2 separate regions of the Homo sapiens genome follow, and region 1 is linked to region 2. The links are contacts of gene promoters, found by promoter capture Hi-C in human tissues and cell types (Jung and others, 2019). All regions are on one chromosome and are shown on one strand. The core of a region is centred on a gene start or on the middle of the fragment in contact, and the rest is flanking DNA. Distances in the headings are between cores, read along the strand shown. Region 1 overlaps LINC02511 (long intergenic non-protein coding RNA 2511). Region 2 holds the start of SLC7A11 (solute carrier family 7 member 11).

The links. Contacts are between HindIII fragments. The study calls those that stand out against the background at their distance.
Region 1: a fragment that was not itself captured here is called in contact with the fragment with the promoter of SLC7A11 in region 2 in 1 of the 25 tissues and cell types used here (dorsolateral prefrontal cortex).

Annotation. Positions count from the first base shown.
Region 1 is chr4:137,163,864-137,166,563 of GRCh38, forward strand. The region is part of intron 1 of LINC02511 (long intergenic non-protein coding RNA 2511); the gene reads right to left. Among named protein-coding and RNA genes, the nearest start is that of LINC02510, 29 kb to the right of the region's middle. The HindIII fragment of the contact is 7,172 bases long and covers 1-2,700 here.
Region 2 is chr4:138,240,878-138,243,627 of GRCh38, forward strand. It overlaps SLC7A11 (solute carrier family 7 member 11), which reads right to left and starts at 1,472. Exons shown (of 12, transcript NM_014331.4): 1 at 916-1,472. The coding sequence starts at 1,192. RefSeq lists enhancers at 818-2,017, 1,487-1,726. The HindIII fragment of the contact is 2,388 bases long and covers 1-2,150 here.

The DNA.
Region 1 (2,700 bases), core at 22-2,521, 1.1 Mb before region 2:
TAGCATATAATACCTTTAAGTCAGATCTCCCCTTTTCCTATGATATCCTTACCAATTTCCAGGGCTTCAACTGTGCCCTCAGCATAGCTCCATTAATAGCATGTAGACACAGTAATTTCCTCAGACAAGACCTATTCTTATTTGGCTTTTGTATCACCCATGGCCAAGATCCAGCACTTTGCACATAGTAGTTACACAATTACTTTCTGAAAAACAGATGAATAAATTAATTATTTACACCTACATTTTAAGTGAGGTTAAAATATGAATGAACCATCTTGCCCCTCACAGAATAGTGTCTTCTTTTCATCACTCTGGATACGTTAAGGATATTTTCTTTATCATCTCAAACCAACATTTGGAATTTATGTTTAATTGATCTCTATCTCCTCTACTTCTTCCAACCCCTGTTTAATCTAAATGACAATTTATTTTACTTCCAAATGATCTCTCTCATTATCCTATTTTTCATACATTTATTGCCACTTTTTTTAGAACTGTCTTTGATCCCTACTTCTCAGGTTAAGGTAGATTGGACTATCAGTGGTCTTCATGCTAATTTACGTACTTTCAGATCCATTACAAATAGTTTTACTTTACAGATCCTGCCTGTATTTCCTACCTCTCTACCTCAATGTTTTTGCATATGCTAACTAACCACTTTCTCCCAATCTCCATTTTACTAAGTTGTTAAGAAATCTGCTTCATTACTATGCTCATACAACATTGTTTTTGCTTTTCAGCCCAATGTCTTCAACATAAAATATGTTCTGTAATCTGAATTTTCATATTTCTCTGTTGTATCATTACTGCAATATGTTTTATAGTTTTAGGGCTATTTCTCTCTCTCTCTCTCATATATATATAATATATTTATATTTCATGTATAAATATATTATATATTTATATATAATATATTTTTATATAGTTTTTTATATTTATATAAATATATATATTTATATAAATATATAAATATATATATTTATATAAATATATATATTTATATAAATATATAAATATATATATTTATATAAATATATAAATATATATATAAATACAATATTTTTATATTTTATATTTATATAATATACATAAAATATATTTTATATACAGTTATATATATTTTATATACAGTTATATATAAATATATTTTATATACAGTTATATATAAATATATTTTATATAGTTATATATAATACATTATATATAGTTATATATAATATATTTTATATATAGTTATATACAAATATATTTTATATAGTTATATACAAATATATTTTATATATAAATATAAAATATAAATATATTATATATATAAAAATATATATATATTTTATGTTTCCCTTTCTGCTTTAGGAGATTATATATGGATATTTATATATACTTACCCTTCTCCTTGCAATGTTATGATGTCTTGAGGAGAGGGATCTATTCAGCATTTTTATCTGTCTGCCCACTGCACTGTCTAGCATTATGCCTTGTACACAGTAAGGACTGAATGAATGTCCCTCAAGTAGATAAATGAGGATGCTTGGCTCTAGGTTTGGTATATAGTAGTTCATAAGCACAAAGGAATAAAACAGCAGCTATTTTTCTGATGTTTACCCCCCTCAATGAAAAATATTCCCTGGGCTTTGTTAAGTAAAAGGTTTTAAAGTGGTGACATACAGACATGTATTCTTTGGACAGTAAAATATTAAACAAGGCAACAAAAATCTAATTAGTTGACAACATTTAAAACTGGCAGACTTCACTTAATTTCAACAGTCTTTTCAAAAGTGAGAAGCAGATTTGGCAATATTGGGAAAATATTCTCCTAGAGCCAAAATTTGCTGGTAATAAGTATCAACTAACCAGTTTAGCCAAGGCTACTGTGTTCTAGTTTGCCTGAATTTCAAATAGCTTATTCATCTTATTTAGATCTTTTGTGATGGAAGGTCTTGGTCAGTGTGACCTCTTCTTTTATATACTTGATCTCTGTACTTGTGTAAAATAAGATTCCAGGACTTGCATTGGGAATCAGGGTTTTAACATACAAGTCTACCAGCTATGCCAGCCAGCTGAGCAGGGGTAGAAAGAACCTGACAGCTGTGCAGATAATGAAGAAACAAACAAAAAACTTTGAATAAAATACTTGGAAAAAATGAGCCAAGTAAAGGGCACAAGCTAGCATATTCAGGGAGAAGAGAAATACTAAGATAAAGAAAATGTGCCAGATTATACGGTAGACACTATTATATTAGTCTTTACTATAGCTTTGACTATATATACATGACTTATAGCTGTATAAGGAACATTTCCTAGCTCTTGCCACTGAAAAAGCATAGAAACAGTAGCACCCTAAAGGCAATGATAATATCTACTGCCCATATTTTAATTTCTAAACACCATTTTCTATTAAAAGGAGCTAGGATTCTTGGGAGAAAGAGCTGATTCCAAGGCTGAAGTGAGAATATTTTCCATTTGAAACCTGAATGACTTGTTCAGAGAAGAAGGAAGTGTTCAAAGAATAATTGAGATATGATATACATAAGACACAGAAGCCAGATTGAAGGGGCATCACTGATTAAATACAGGACAATTTGAGCACCTAAATAAATAATGGTAGTAATAGATTATAACCCACTGAACAAAATAAAGAAGTTCTTATCCATAGTGAATATCAATTTTGAAATTTATTATCTAAATTTCAAGAGGTAA
Region 2 (2,750 bases), core at 222-2,721:
TCTAGTAATTTGCCTACTCCATAAGGGGGCATTTATTTACCTCTTTACTATTAATTCTCAGATCAATAGAAGAGACATAAACTTTGAAGAAAAATTCATAATTATACTTCTGCCAGTTCCCTTCAGATTAATTTAGTGAACAGGTGGACAAATTCTCTGTGTCCCTGGAGAACAAGTGAAATATAATGAAAAAAACAGATCTGGGCAAGTACAGAAAACTAACGCCCAACTGAAGTTTTAAAACTTATATTGCAAAAGTGTATGGGTATTGAGAAGAGATGAAAGGTTGAAAAGTAATTTGAAATATGCTCAGGCCATTGCAATATACCCCATTATGATAGGGATTGAGTTATGCGCCATCATACATCTCTCCCATGTCAAGGACTTTTGAAAGGATATTAAGAGGTGACAAGCACATGAACTTAAAAAATATTTTTATAAAGACTGCCACCCATTTGTTTGGCTAATAAAAAGTCAGTAAGACTTCTGCTGAACACTCCGTTCTATGTCTAAATAGCCCATGCCAGGTTCCACTTCACAGGTGTCTCATTCAGCATGCCAGCTGCCAGAATGCCCAAGCTAAGTGTACAACTGCCCGGCACAGAAAGTGTGCATGTTTTTTACTGGGTCATGAAAGTTAGCCTTTGCTCTCATCACCACAGAGAAAAGTCAGAAGATAGCCTGTCTTAGTCAGGAAAAGAAAGTACAGCCTGTAGGAAGCAATTTGAGGGTGTTCCAGATCACACCAACAGCGGATGCTGCATCTGGGTAGTTCACGTACCCGAACAAAAATTTTAAAAATTTGGTGTGGCCTTTGCCATCCATTCACTCCTCAAAAACTACCATTTGCTTTCCCAGAAAGCAAGCTTTCCAGCCCCACAGCCACGCCCCCACGAGAGAAAAAGTCGCACTCACCAAATAGTGACAGGACCCCACACACCGTCCAGATGGTCAGAGACATGCCCACGCTGCCCGTGTTCTGGAGCACGCCCTTAGGAGAGATGAAGATTCCTGCTCCAATGATGGTGCCAATGATAATGGAGACTCCCCTCAGTAAAGTGACTTTCCTCTTCAGCTGCACTTTCTCCTGCCCAGGTGGCTCCTTGTTGCCCAGGGAAGGCAGCCTCCCGTTAACATTTCCCTGCAGGTAACCTCCTTTGGAGATGGTGGACACAACAGGCTTTCTGACCATAGTAGGGACACACGGGGGAAAAATAAAACAGAGGGAAAGAAAACAAAACTTTCAACTTTGGTGTCTCTTGGTGTTACTGATCGATGTCTTCCTCTGCTTTCAGACTGTCTCTCTCAGCGCTATAGTGTTCACAGGTGAAAACTCAAAGGTGTGCTTTTTCCTTCACAGCGATCTAATTACTACTCAGAAACACCTGTGTATGCATCGTGCTCTCAATTCTCCACCTCCTCGTTCCACCACTGCTGCTGCTGCTGCTGCTGCCGCCCTATCATTACAAACCAGCTCAGCTTCCTCATGGGCTTGTATTTAAGCGCCTGCCTGTCACACCAACTTACTACAGCTAAATGATGATGCAAATTCTCCAGGTTTGCATCAGCCACATGAGAAGCCTCCAGCATTACTCAGCTCTTTTTTTTAAAAAAAGAAAAAAACAGGAGGAGCTTGTTGCTCAACTGACCTAAGCTTTTTAGAGAACAAAGCACACACTTTAAAGAGATTTTAGCCAATCCAGAAGTAGTAAATTCGGAACAGACCTTCCCAGAGATTTAAAGCAACTCGTAGTGAGCAACAAAAGCTGTTCAAACAAAATGAAACAGGAAATAGTTACTTCATTTTAAGGAGTTTCTTTTTCTTTAATGCGTGTATAAAAACATTTTACATGCGACTGTTTTGTGAGTAGAATGTATCCTAAAGCTACATTGTTTATAACAACACAGTTTGAATTTCATAATTTGTGTAATGCTTTTTATTTTTTTATTTTGAGTTTTTTATAAGGCAATACAGTCAAATCCAATATTTACAAAATTAAAGATTCTACACTTTATACTTCTGTCACATACACACAACTATAAGCCTTCCTCAACATTAAAAGATAAAATTATTTCTTACTACTCATAATAAACCAGTATTTTAAATCACCATCCGAGTGTGACTAATACAAAATTCACCATGACTCCAGAAAATAGTCATTTTCTGATTCTCATTAGCACTAGGTGATTTTTTTGAACTATGTAAAAGATACATATCCTTCATTGTCATGTTGTTCCTTTGAATTACCAAAAAAAATTTCTAAGTTCAAAATTACACAATTACAATTACATAAAAATATGTATATAGCAAAAGCCTGTAAAGGAAAACAGAATGGTAGTTATAGAAAGTAATGATATTATGTATGACTTTTTTCCACATTATATAAACTATTGTTATTATTATAAATTTAAAATGCATTAAAAATGTAAGCTAAATTAAAATATTTACTTTGCAATAGTCAAAAAGGCAAAACATTTTTAAACCCTTCTAACTTTCTCAACCAAGTGTCAAGAAAAAACAAATATGAAAAGAAAAGAAATCCTAGATATCATTTTTGGCTATAGTTACATGTGGTTTTGGATTCAGTGAGAAGAATTGAATGTTATCATTACCCTGAAGCTACCTTTATACGCACCATTAAATAAGCTTCTGAACCTTTGAACAAAAACCACAAACAAAAAGCCTGTGTGCGAGAGGTTGGCAGGGAAAGAAGGGAGTCAAGTATGGTGAGGATGATCAAAGAAAGAAA